5 separate regions of the Homo sapiens genome follow, and all the other regions are linked to region 4. The links are contacts of gene promoters, found by promoter capture Hi-C in blood cells and fetal thymus (Javierre and others, 2016). All regions are on one chromosome and are shown on one strand. Each heading gives the region's core, a stretch centred on a gene start or on the middle of the fragment in contact. The rest is flanking DNA. Distances are from core to core; before and after follow the strand shown.

Region 1 (2,700 bases), core at 94-2,593, 360 kb before region 4:
CATATTATAGTACCTACCAGATATAGTGCTTAACAGATTTCAACTTTTATTTATGTATTTTTAAAAATAGAGTTGGGGGTCTCACTGTTGCCCAGCCTAATCAAGAACTCCTGGGCTCAAGTGATCTTGCCTCGGCCTTCCAACGTGCTAGGATTATAGGAGTGAGCCACCATGCCTGACGTCAACTTTTAAATGTGCATATAAATAATTACCAAGAAGTAATTTTAAATTGAAATGTGTAATAATATTTCAGCAAGTTATGTTAACAACATGTATGAGAACCTCACATCCACTATAATTCTAAATTTATTTTATTAGATTATAAGAACTAGTTAGAAACTTATTAAAACATTTTTAAAATGAAAATCAATCTCTATATTTAAGGAAATCAAAACTGTAATTATTTATAAACACTTTGAATTTTTTATGAAGACTTATTAACTAGGTTGTAATGGCTACTTAAAAATGACCGGTAACATTTTTTAGAAAGTTTTAAAAACTGAACTTAAAATATAAGAAATAATAAGATTTTTAAGTATATTTTATTTCTGAGTCAACTGTTGACTTTAAAAAGGGCCGACAACCGTGCAGTGCAGCTTTCTGTAAGAACCTCAATGAACACACATGAGAAAATGTAGCTTAAAAAAAGGTTCACTTTTTAAAGGACATTACTGATGTCCTAAAATATACTAGGTATATATTGTTGCTTGGGTGTTTGAAGTTGTTTGGATGAAATAAACTTGGGTTCAGTCACAGAATACAAGATTGTCTACTGATTTCAGATGATAATGTGTCTGGAGAAGATGAGCCTTCTCAAAGGCAATTGCAGAAAGACAAGATAATTTTGAGGGCAACATTTTTTTTTTCTAGGATGGACGAAAACGGAAAAAAAGTAGTAACAATGAAAAAGATGTTTATAACATTTAAAAAACCCTCAAAACTGACTATAAAGGAAAACCATTTTAACAAAAGCTAAAACTACATGCATTTCAAACTTATGCAGTGTATTTAAGTCACACTGGCCCCTTAGATGTCCCTACAAGCGCTGCAGACGTCGGGGAGGCCTGTGGAGTGACCGGTCCTCACCTCCTCCGGCTCTCAGTGCCCCATCTGCCAGCTGTCACAGTGCTGGTACACTCTAACAAGACCTCCCTGGGGCTCAGGGATAAACAGAGAGAAACACAGTAATACTATGATACTAGAAATACTGGCTTTTAAAGTATGGTACTGTTTATTATCTTACGACAGGAAGTCCTGTCGTATCTGAGATATGGCTCTGAAAGAATTCTTGGTCTAGGTATTTCCCATCTCTAGAGGGCGGTGATATATTTGAAGCAATCACTTAATTACAAGAGCTCTCTCCTCCTGTACCCTGCCACATTTATTGTCAATAACTCAGAATTTCCTAAGTGATAAGGGATGGCTCTCTGTGTCTTCTGACCCCTCAGAGAGCTCACAGTGGTGTCTTTGGATGCCTGCATCCTGTCCTGCCTCCTCCCCGCCTTACCGTGGGGCTCACACAGTCAATGGCCATAGAAGAGCCACTGCAGTCCCACCTGGATTCATAGCACCAGGAAAGGAGCAGGCCTCTTTCAGCCAGCCAAAGAAACACTTACCCCTTATTAGGGAAGCTGCACAACAGACTAAAACCGGATCCAGGAAACAGTGGACAGGGGACTCAGGTGGGTGTGGAGTGTGCGCCTCACTCCCCAGGAAAGCAGCGCTAGGGCCCTTTCCCTCAGAACTCTGTGGCGTGCATTGCTTCTGGCCAAGGAGGGGAAAGTTCTTTCTGGCTCTCCTCAAAGTCTTATTACAGACCTTCCTGGAATTGCTTATACATCTTCTTGGCCCCTTTCAGCTTCACTCTGGTGATACCAGTAGGTCACTGACCCAGAACATGGCCCCTGAACTCTGGTCTTGAGGTGGTGGTGGTGGCGATGGGCTTTTTGGGGTCAACTGACTTTTACTTCCTTCCAGGCAAGGTCACTGAACATGTGAAAATATGCTGGCTTTCCACCTAGTGAGGAGCTACATTATCTCTGAGTGAGAGCAGGACATTTCACCTTTGAAATGGCAAGTGGAAAGAACAGGTGGAGGTAATCAAGGACACACACACACACACACACACACACACACACACACACACACACAGGCTAATGAGGAACAGGAGGAAAAGGGATGGTGGGCAAACAGTGGAGGGAAGTGAAGGGGTGGGTGATGAGGAGGTGAAAGGAAAAAAAGGATCTAAAGGGAAAACTAGAACTGAAAGAAGGCAGGATGCAAAGGGAGAACAGCAGAGGGTGGTTGCCGCAAACACAAATCCTTCCCACACTTACCACACACACAGGCCTTTCTCTGCATTTGCTTCCCCAAGCTCTTCATGGTCATCTTCTTCCTGTGGCTGAGGGCCTTGTCCCAGGTCTTCATCACCTCGCCCCAGGGTATCTGGGAGGACCTCTCCATGGATGGGTCCTTCAGGAGGAACCTGAGTTTCTTCTCTATGTCAGCTCCTCCAGATTCTGTAGCAGTGGCTCACACAGGTGCTTTGGCCATGCCTTTCCAAGGTTGGCCATAGGCACTAGAGTCTAGAGGGAACAGAAGAAACAGCAGAATGATTTAGTAGAGAAGTCACCCTCTCTCTAGTCAGAGAAAGGGCTTCTGGAATCAGCTGTGTGACTTCCTTCTCTCCATGCCCTCTGC
Region 2 (2,700 bases), core at 174-2,673, 400 kb before region 4:
ATTGTTAGATTATTTGAATTCTTTCCACTTTTTTGATGTAGGCATTTATTGCTATAAACTACCATTTAGCACTGCTTTTGCTGTATCCCATAGATTTTGGTATGTTGTGTTTTGATTTTCATTTGTTTCAAGAAATTTTTTGATTTCCTTTTAAATTTCTTTTTTGATCCAATGGCCATTCAGGGACATGTTGTTTAATTTCCATATATTTGTGCAGTTTCCAACATTCCTCTTGTTATTAACTTCTGGTTTTATTTTATTGTGGTCTGAGAAGGTACTTCATATGATTTTGATATTTAAAAATTTGTGGAGACTTGTTTTGTGTGCTAACATATGGTTTATCCTGGAGCATGTTCCATATGCTGATGAGAAGAATGTGTGTTTTGTAGCTGTTGGATGAAATGTCCTGTAAATTTTTGTTAGGTATATTTGGTATAATGTGCAGTTTTAATTCAATGTTTCTTTGTTAATTTTCTGTCTAGATCAGGGGTGTCCAATTTCTTGGCTTCCCTAAGGCACATTGGAAAAAGAATTGTCTTGAGCCACACATAAAATACAGTAACACTAACGAATAGCTGATGAGCTTAAAATAAATTGCAAAAGCTCTCATTATGTTTTAAGAAAGTTTATGAATTTGTGTTGAGCTGCATTCAAAGCCATCCTGGGCTGCATGTGGCCTGCAGGCCATAGGTTGAACAAGCTTGGTCTAGATAATCTGTTTAATGCTGAGAGTGGGGTGTTGAAGTTCACAACTCTTATTGTACTGGAGTCTACTTCTTTCTTTACATCTAATAATATTTGCTTTATATATCTGGGTGCTCTGATGTTGGGTGCATATATGTTTAGAATTGTTATATTCTTTTGCCAAATTGATCCCTTTATCATTATATAATGATTGTCTTTATCTCTTTTTATTGTTTTTGACTTAAAGTCTGTCTTATCTCTTATATGTACAGCTATTCCTGCTTGCCTTTGGTTTTCATTTGCATGGACTTTTTTCATCCCTTTAGTTTAAATCTATATGTGTCTTTATACATAAGGTGAGTTTCTTTTAGGAAGCATATAGTTGGGTCATGTTTTTTAATTCATTTAGCCAGTCTTTGTCTTTTATTTGGAAAGTTTAATCTGTTTGTATTCAAGGTTATTATTGATACATGATTTTATTAAATAATTTCTGGTGGCTGCATTGGGCTTGGGAGGCCAGTCCCTAGGCACATAGTGCGTACGTATGTGTGGGTGTCAGCTGTGGTGGTAGAGGCAGGTTGGGTGGGCCTGATCTCAGGCCCTGGGAAAGTGTTTGGGTGCCAAAGGTGATGAACTGGGTTGGGTGATTCCCATACCCAAAGATGACATGCTTAGGCACTGGGAAGGAGGAGTGGAGCCAGGCCTGGCTCCTTAGGCCCCTTAGTAGTGTGTGTAGGCACTGGCTGTGTTAGGCAGAGGCAGGTGATCCCTAGGCTCCTGGTGGTATGTTGGGGTGGAGGTGTCACTGCCACCCTGCTACTGGGGAGCACAGGGTTGCTTTCAGTGGCAGCAGCAGTAGGCAGGGAGCTGGGGAGCATGCACTTTGCTTGTGCTTTGGCAGCAGTAGGCAGGGAGCTGGGGAGCATGCACTTTGCTTGTGCTTTGGCAGCAGTAGGCAGGGAGCTGGGGAGCATGCACTTTGCTTGTGCTTTGGCAGCAGTAGGCAGGGAGCTGGGGAGCATGCACTTTGCTTGTGCTTTGGCAGTGGCAGTGGCTGTGGGGCAGGGGAGTCTGTCCTCAGGGCTTGTGAAATGCATAGTAACTGCTGCTGGGGGCACTGGAATCCGTGCCAATGGCTTCTGTTTTGACCCTGGGATCATCCAGCAGCTGCAGAGGCTGTAGGTTGGGTAGCCTTTCCTCAGGCCATATGAAATGTACTGTCACCCCTCTGTTGGGGGTGGGGGGTGGAGTTGCAAGCTGATGCTCTCAGTCAACCCCTTCCTCTGCTAACCATTGGTTTGCAGGCTGCATAATCCACTCTAACTTTGGGCAGGACTTCTAAGAGCTTCTAATCTGTAACTCCTTTTTGTACACCAACCCCAACCACCCAGCCTTGGGAAACTGAGTGTACAAGGCCTCAGCCTGGGTACACCGAAAGGAAGCAGAGAGGAGAAGCGAGTCAAGAAGCTTGAGATCTGACACAGGTTCTGGCAAGTGCCCTTGGGCCAGGGACTCTTATTTCCTCTTCCATAGAAGGTAGATGTTGGACTGGTGGCTTCTCATGGCCTTTCCCTTCCTGCATCAAACTTGTGATGTTTCTAGTGAATTTTGTATGATTGTAGTTTGGGAAGCTCTTTCATGTTCCCCAATTGACTTGATTTTTCGAACACTTGGGAGGTAGGTGGTACCAACCCACTTTACAGATGAGGGAACTGAGCTTTGGAGTGAGCAATCTCATAGCCAGTTGGTAACAGAACCAGGTCTGGAGTTGGCCCCCTGACTCCTATCTCCTGAGTTCACCCTGATTGCTGGGAGCTGGAGGAGCTTTTGGCACTGGGGGCAGATTGTTTTCTCCAAATGAGGCAGGCATGGGACCAGGACAAGCCAGGTCTCCTCTCCTCTTGCCCACCCTACTCACTCAGGCTAATACCTCCTATCCTGCTGTATCTAGTCTTAAAAATGGGTCTCTGTCCCCTCAGGGGGATCCTCTGGCCTCTCCAACCTTAGCTGCTCTTC
Region 3 (2,700 bases), core at 192-2,691, 380 kb before region 4:
TACCTACCCACCCATCTTCCATTCAGTCAGTCTGGATTCATAGATATTTATTTTATTTAATTAGTTATGCTTTGTTACTAGCATTGGTGATTTTGATGATCAAAATTATCCCAGATTAGTCCTGTGAGAGCTCCTCCAAGTTGATTCTTGTGTCTTTTTGACACACTGCTATTACTTTTTGAGCACTTCCTTACTTTCTGTTACTACAAGATATTCCAGGCTCATCTTGTACTTTCCCGGCTCAAACTCTGTAATCTGGTATTTTTCTAAGAAACCCTGATTCCTTTTAGCAGAGAATTGTGTATAAAAACAAACCAAGACCTGGAATAGGTCTGTTCATTGCCAGAGTGTTGTTATTTTTAGGCCCTGTCATACATATACACACATGTGTGTGTAGTATATATATTATGTAAATATGCACACACACACATGCAAATCCATTCATCTATCTACCTACCTACTTACCTACCTATCTTTCTTAAAAACCATGAGTTCATACTGATATGACCAGTTCCAATCCAACACTCTAGAGTTCATTTTAACCTTCTCTCTTTCCATATATGTAATTTCCTTCTCCAACCGTGAAAAACCTGGTTTCAGTTACCCACAGTATATTTACTTATTTGCTTAATCCTAGAATACACAGAATGTAGTTTCAGAATTGTTAACTCATGCTGGTGTGGGAAACAAATCTATTAAACAGAGTTCAATATTTGCTACTGTCTTTTTGCCCTAGCCTGAGAATACAGAGGCAAAGTACTGCTTCAAAACTTCTGTTATCACCCCCTACCCGTACTGTGTTTTGTCATTCACTTAACCTACAGTTCGGTACACTTGCTTCCATATGTATTCAATGCTAATGTTTCCTCCTTTTATCCTTGTTGATTGTATTTACTGAAAAACTGAGTACATGAAACATTAACATGGTTGTAAAAGTCAGAACAGATCTGTACAAAAACATGAACTCAGAGAAGTGTCACTGCCCTCCATCTTCTCTACCTTGCTCCCACCATCTTATTCTTTTCACCCATCAGGCTAAAAAAAGACATCAGAGAAAAATATATCCTAATATGTTGAGTTTATTCGGGAGTAAGCAAAAGGATTATAATCTGGGAAGCACAGCTGTAGCAAGCCATAGGTACAGGTACATCAAGCCAAAGGTAAAGGGAAATTTTTACTGGCAAGGAGAAGCTATGTAAGCTGCTTGGAGACAGAGTTCATTGGTTCTGGAGGCTCAAAGCTAGAATTAGCATCAGTTCATTGGTGGAGATGCCACTGCTAGGCATCGGCCTAGCATCTTATCAGAATTGCTACAGTCCTAAAGAATGTATAGTGATAAACCTGGTCATAGAAATATGTGCATGCATGTAAAATGTAAAATGCATGTAAAATGTAGATCATGAAAAGCATGAGATGTATAAAAGATGAAGGAATTTCTCGTGGAGTTATTTTAGAAAGTCCTTGAAATAGTCCTTATCTCAGATGTGCAAGCATGAGCTGTGCTCCTTTGTGTGTTCTGGCTCCAGTTTGCTCGGGTCTGACAAAAGTGACTTATTTTGCTATCTGCAACTTTAGTCACTCCATTTCCACCCACTCCTGTATGGAACCAATCTCATTAGTTTCTGGGTTTCCTTTCCTAAGTTTCTTTTTGTATAGTTGTGCAGACAAATATATATTTTCTTATTCCCCTTTCTTTCTTGCACAAAACGTGGCATACCATAAACACTTTCTCACACTTTGCTTTTTAAATTTAACAGCATATCTTGGGAGCCATTCTATATCAGTTTATAGATGTCATCCTCATTCATTTTTATAGCTGCAGACTATTCCATTCGATGATGTACCATAGTTCATTCAACCATTTTCCTATGTAAAGTCATTTTGGTTGTTTCTAATATTTTTCAATTATAAACAATGCTACAATGAAAATCCTTAAACATATGTATTTTTGTATATATTTGAATATGTATTACCAGGATAAATTATAAAAAGGGGGAAAAGCATGTGCCATTTTGTTTGATATCATCAAATTCTCCCCCATTAAGGTTGTACTAATTTCCATTCCCATCAGAAATGCTTGAGCATCTACTTTCTTCAAGCCTTGCCAACAGAACGTGTTAGTGTATGTTTACATTTTTGCCAATCTGCTAGGTGAGAGATAATATCTCAGTGTTATTTTAATTTGCATTTCTCTTATTATAGTTGAGGCTGAATGTTTTTTCACATGTTTACGGGACATTTTAATTCTTTTTTCAGTCAATGGTCTGTTTATGTCTTTGACTATTTGACCATTTTTATATCAGGTTTTTGAAACTTCTATCGAGTAGAAAAAGTTATTTATATATTAGCGATATTACATATGTATCTGTGTTATATATTACCGATCTTTTCTCTCAGTGTTTAATTTATTTTGGGATTTTTTTTTTTTTTTCTGCGACAGAGTCTTGCTCTGTTGCCCAGGCTAGAGGGTAGTGGTACAGGCTCGGCTCACTGCAACCTCCCCCTCCCAGGTTCAAGCGATTCTCCTGCCTCAGTCTTCTGAGTAGCTGGGATTACAGGTGCCCGCCACCACGCCCGGCTAATTTTTGAATTTTTAGTAGAGACGGGGTTTCACCACGTTGGCCAGGCTGGTCTTAAACTCCTGACTTCAGGTGATCTGCCTACCTTGGCCTCCCAATGTGCTGGGATTACAGGCGTGAG
Region 4 (2,700 bases), core at 110-2,609:
AGCCACGGAGGCTCCTGAACCCACTAAACCAGAAGCAAAGTGGCAGCTGAGAGCTGGTGCTGATTTTTTAAATTGGGAGACTCCTGAGTGTGTTCACCTGTAACTACAGTATCATAATTCACCTTCCAAAATTTAACATCAGGATTCACAAGAAAAAAAAGTTGCCATTGCCAGACATGGGCTAGAATCTTAAACTTGACAGTAAAGAAAATGAACTCTACATTGTGAAATATACATCACTCCCTAGATTCTATGATCAGATCTAGAACCAACTCAGAATAAAGTCACAGAACCAATATTAGTTAACTTTCAGTGAATTTTTCCTATCAAAAAGTATCTTTTAAACTAGCAAAAGAAGAAGAAAAGGGAAGCATATGGTTTAGCATGGTAAGGATTCTCTTGTCCTAATTGTGTTCAGGACAACTTAGAAAACAGTTTTCTGGGTCCTCATTTCCAGCCTGCCAGCTTATAATCACACTTGAGAGTCTACTTTCTGGGGCCATTCCTGCTATCAACTGTCTTAAGTTGGGTTCCTTAGAAACTGACTTTGAGACCTTTCCATGCTGAAAGTTTATCAGAAAGTAAGCTCACAAACAATGTCTCAACAGGTGCAAAGGAAGCAGAATTTTGCAGAGGGAGAAGGTGAATTACAACGGAGTTTCATCAGACTTCCCAGCTGATTTACGAGAAACTCTGGAGTAGAGATGGTCCTACACACTTGTCCTGAGTTAGGCAAGGGAGTCAGGCCTTTAAACTCACCATCAACTAGTCATTAAATACAATCATTGCAAACGGAGGGTGGCTAATTTAGGGTAATAGAGTTCCCTTTGGCTGAAGGTAATTCCTGAAAGAAATGTAGGTGTGAACTATCAGCAGCTGATAGCTCCCAGCTTATGAGGTAATGAGTGCTTCAAGGGGGGGATCTGTGTGGAGCTACACAGTTTACAGCTGGGGAAAGTTTATATCTGATTAGTCTTCTGAGAGGACTTGAGATGGGTGTCAGATCCTAGGGTTCAGGTCCAGCCCATGCTGAAGTCCGAGGGGAGTGGGTGGATGAACAGAAAGAACACTCGGGGGTCCATATGCAGGTGAAAGATGACTTCATTCAGCAGCAGTTCTTATTAACAACTTTCTCACACTGTCCACCTTTATCTCAACTGTGTGCTCTGGCTCTGTGGCTCCTGCCGCCCCCATGCCTGCAGCTGCATAGCCGGCTCACCCTTGGCTTCAGGGTCAGCAGCTTAACTTTTTCTCTCTCTGGGCACCAGTGTGAGCTGTGTTGTGGGTCCCCTCTGTCCATCTGCAAAATGGACAGCTTTGGCTCTCTTTCTCTGGGCACCAGCGCCTGCACTAGAGCCATGTTGAGTTGAGCCAAGCCCCAAAAGTCCCTGTATAGTGTTAGCAAGGCAATTATACCTTTTACAGACAATAGTGGCTCAGAGCCAAGTATGAACTTACACAAACAATCTATATAACAAGTAGAAGTGTGCACCTGTGCAACAAACTTGCTGAATCATGCAGGCCTGGATATCTGCCTTGGCTTATTCCTTGACCAAAACACATCCATATACGTTACAATGGGTGAAGGGAATAAATGGTCAGACTTTTCCTGATGATAGAATGGACTCTCCCATTGTTGCTCCCATGCTTCTTATCATAGTTCCTGTTTGTTAAGACATTATGAAACAGGTAGAATAAAATTAAACATAATTTAAAAATGAGGACCAAAAATAAATAAAAGTCTGTAAGAAGCAATATAAACAGACAAAAAATATATTCACCTTCTCAATTTTGGTTTTTAAAAGATTCAGGCATAAAATAACAGAAACAAAACTATTAGAACGAAAATATCAGACAAATTTGGAAAATACATTTAAAGCTCACTTAAAATGTGCTTGTATTTATTGGTTAACTTTTTAGCAATGGAAATTGTAGAGAAGGACACACGTAGAGAGCTGGAAGTGATAAATTCTCCTGGCAGGAGGCCAAAGACCTTAAGTAATTGATGTGTCTTGACCTGAACCTCAATCTCAAGAGACTCATTAAGCTGATCCATCTCTAAGGATATTCTGCTGTTTGAACAATTCTGTTGCATTCTCTGTAATAAAAAAAGAGATACTTTTGTGAAGAAATAACTAGAATCTTGTAGATTTTTTCATTAGGTGGTATTATGGCTGGCTCTTGATGGCCCAAAATGAATTTATTCCCTTGGAAAATATGGCAGGGTTCTTCCTAGTGAAAATTAGCTTAAGCAAAAAGGACTGTGTGATTGACATGGGACTTGTGTATCAATACTTGCACGCATGCGTGTATGCACACACAAACACACATACACACACAAGCCGGACATTTGCCTTTATGCTGAGGTGGCAAATAGGAACAAAGCTTTGGCCTAATGAATTTCAGACTTAATCCCTAGTTCCCCTCAACGTAACTTCTGAGGTTATAACGTCTGCAGGCAAAGATTTCCACTATACCCTAAAATCTAGCCACTTGTCGACTATATCATCTCTTCCTTTTATGCTATACTTTCTTCAGCTGCCTAATGTGTGTCCTAGTCCATTTTAAGTGCAAATTTCCATTACAAAAAAGACTACAAAATGGATCCAAATAGGTTGGAGTCATTAGAGATACCGAATATAGACCTATATGTCACTTTATCAGCTAGAAATTCAGCATCTAAATTCTCTTTCTTGGCTT
Region 5 (2,700 bases), core at 23-2,522, 440 kb after region 4:
AACATATGGGGTGCAAATATCTTTTTGAAATACTGATTTTATTTCCTGTGGATGTATACCTAGAAGTGGAATTACTGGATTGTATGGTAGTTTCATTTTTCAGTTTTTCTAATATCTTCACACTGTTTTCCCGAATGACTCTACCAATTTGTATTCCTATCAACAGTGTAAAGGGTTCCTTTTTTTCCAAACTTTTGCCAACTCTTCTTATGTCTTGTCATTTTGATAATGGCCATCCTAATAGATATGAGGCAATATTTTGCTGTGGTTTTGATTTACACTTCTCTGATAATTAATAATATTGAAAACCTTTTCTTATGCCTGTTGGTCATTTATTTCTCTTCTTTGGACAAAAAATGACTATCTGATACCACTCTCTCCTGGCCTGCAAGCTTTCTGCTGAGAATTTTGCTGATAACCTCGTAGACATTTCTTTGTAAGTGGCAAGTCTCTTTTCGTGTGCTGCTTTCAAGATTCTCTCTTTTTATTTGGCCTTTGACAGTTTGATTATCATATTTTGGGGTGTTCTTCTTTTGTTAGATTTTATGAGAGGTCATCTGAGCTTTGCTAATTTGGATGCCTGTGTCTCTCCCAACATCTGGAACATTTTCAGACACTATTTACCAATGCTTTTTTGTCCCTTTCTTTCTCTCTTCTCATTCTGGGAATCTCATAATTCGTATGTTTGTTTGCTTGGTGGTTCCCATAGGTTCTTTATGCTTTCTTAACAGTTTTTTAAAATCATTATTTCTTTTTGTTCCTTTAATTTATTAATGTTATATGACTTTCTTCATGGTCAATAATTTTTTTCTTGGTATTATTGAGTTGGCTGTTGAAGATATCTATTGTATTTTTCAGTTCTTTTATTGTATTCTTTGACTCTAGGTTTTCTGTTTAGTTCTTTTTTATGGTTTCTATTTCTTTATTAAACTTCTTGTTTGTTGCTGTATTGTTTCTTCGTTGTGTTTAGTTGTTTATCTGTGTTCTCTTGCATTTCATCAACCCTCTTTAAGCTGATTATTTTGAGTTATTTGTCAGGTAATTTGTCAATCGCCATTGCTTTGGGGTCAATAACTGAAGTTTTAGTAGTTTTCTTTGGTGGTGTTATGCTTGCTTAATTCTTTGTTGTGCAGGTAGCCTTGCATTGGTGTCTGCACATTTGAAGGAGAAAACATCTCTTCTAGACTTTGTTGACTGATTTTGAAAGTAAAGACCTTCTTTTGTTGGTTGTCCAGGCTGATGAAGTTGCCTGTAAGATCTGAGTTGAGTTAGTGTGGAATTGAGTTATGTTGCTGCTGCTGAGTCTACAGTGCAATCTGTGATTAGTGGGTGTATTATGAGGGGCTAAAGCGAGTGTGGCCTCTGTCTTGTTTTTGGATGGACTAGATAATACCAGGAAATTGGTCAGTAGAGCTGGCACTGAAATAAGGTTTGTTTCAAGGTCCACAGCTAGCTCTTCAGGTGGCAGGTATGTTACCAGGTGTGCAGTCAAGTCTGGCTTCCTCTAGGTCCCTGGGAGGGCTCCCTCTATGTCATTGGCTATGCACATGGCTTGGCTGGAATGGCCCTCAACTGTCACTGAGAGGGATTGAAACTAAATCACAAGGCTGCTTCAAGGTCCACAGCCAAGGCCAAGGTCAGCAGGCCTGCCTCCAGAGGCACAGATGGTCATGCCTCCCTCAATGTTCCTGGGCAGACAGGATTATCCCTAGAATGTGTCTCAGTGGGGCAGAAGCTGGATCACAGGAGGGCTTCAAGATCTGTGGTCAGAATGTTATTATTTAGGCCTGCCTCAAGACGCATGAATGGACTTCTCTCCCTACAGGTCCCTGTGCAGGAATGACTACTCTCAGACCATAGATGACAAAGACTGGAGATGAGTTACATGGTTACTTCAAAGCTGAAAACAAGGCCTTTTACCCAAGGCATGGACGGACATGACTTCTTCCAGTCCCTTGGCGGATAGTTATATTTGAAGGACTGAGGGCAAACTCAGGTTGTAGCTGAGTCTATAGTGGGATGAATCATTTCCAGGCCTCTGTCCAGGACTCTGTTCAGCAAGACTGTCACCTAAATGCAGGCCTGTCAGCTCAAAATAGCTCTCCTCAATTTAGGGCTCCAATAGAGTTTTGCAACCTCCTACCTTAATCCAAAAGCTTTTACAAAGGAGCTTTTGTATATACAAATTGCTTCCAAATTCTTGTTGCTATGTGGCATATAAGTAGGATATCTCCTTTTCTGCCATTTTGCTTGCAATCGTACTTAATTTTCAAGTCTGACAAACTCAGTTTTTTGAATTGTGAATCCATTTGTATTTAGTGTTATTGATATAGTTGGATTTACATCTGCAATTTTACTTTTTGCTCTTTATATGTCTCATTTTTGTATGTTTCTCTATTCCTTCTCTTCTGCTTTCTTTTGTTCTAAAATAATACTGTCTTAAGATTTAATTTATTTAACTATTTTTGTTATATATTACTGATGTTTTCCTTAATGGTTGTCCATAGCTTACATCTCCTCTGAAAAGAATCAGTTTTAGATTTATACCAGCTTAATTCTAGTGATACACCTGTACTTTAGAGATACTTCATTTGGTTCAAGATCACCAAAATGAAGTGAATACTGCAATTAAGAAAGTCATAAAAAATCTTTTGGTTTCCTATATATATAAAAGTTATGCATACACTATTTTATAGTCTC

What was found. Contacts are between HindIII fragments. The CHiCAGO score rates a contact against its expected background, and 5 or more counts as called.
Region 1: a contact is called between a fragment that was not itself captured here and the fragment with the promoter of C11orf40 in region 4, in 8 of 17 cell types (M1 macrophages, M0 macrophages, M2 macrophages and 5 more). The highest score is 10.4, in M1 macrophages.
Region 2: a fragment that was not itself captured here is called in contact with the fragment with the promoter of C11orf40 in region 4 in 8 of 17 cell types (M2 macrophages, M0 macrophages, M1 macrophages and 5 more); the score reaches 11.8 in M2 macrophages.
Region 3: a contact is called between a fragment that was not itself captured here and the fragment with the promoter of C11orf40 in region 4, in 8 of 17 cell types (M0 macrophages, M1 macrophages, M2 macrophages and 5 more). The highest score is 8.4, in M0 macrophages.
Region 5: a contact is called between a fragment that was not itself captured here and the fragment with the promoter of C11orf40 in region 4, in 1 of 17 cell types (erythroblasts). The highest score is 5.9, in erythroblasts.

The regions. Positions count from the first base shown.
Region 1 is chr11:4,212,680-4,215,379 of GRCh38, forward strand. No RefSeq gene overlaps it. Among named protein-coding and RNA genes, the nearest start is that of SSU72L5, 19 kb to the right of the region's middle. The HindIII fragment of the contact is 2,918 bases long and covers 1-2,700 here.
Region 2 is chr11:4,177,675-4,180,374 of GRCh38, forward strand. No RefSeq gene overlaps it. Among named protein-coding and RNA genes, the nearest start is that of LINC02749, 8.1 kb to the right of the region's middle. RefSeq lists enhancers at 1,066-1,593, 1,594-2,120. The HindIII fragment of the contact is 1,451 bases long and covers 699-2,149 here.
Region 3 is chr11:4,195,490-4,198,189 of GRCh38, forward strand. The region is part of intron 1 of LINC02749 (long intergenic non-protein coding RNA 2749); the gene reads left to right. Among named protein-coding and RNA genes, the nearest start is that of LINC02749, 9.7 kb to the left of the region's middle. The HindIII fragment of the contact is 3,403 bases long and covers 1-2,700 here.
Region 4 is chr11:4,576,461-4,579,160 of GRCh38, forward strand. C11orf40 (chromosome 11 putative open reading frame 40) reads right to left here and starts at 1,360. Exons shown (of 4, transcript NR_172945.1): 1 at 1,220-1,360. The HindIII fragment of the contact is 3,404 bases long and covers 1-2,383 here.
Region 5 is chr11:5,020,165-5,022,864 of GRCh38, forward strand. No RefSeq gene overlaps it. Among named protein-coding and RNA genes, the nearest start is that of OR52J3, 25 kb to the right of the region's middle. The HindIII fragment of the contact is 1,764 bases long and covers 391-2,154 here.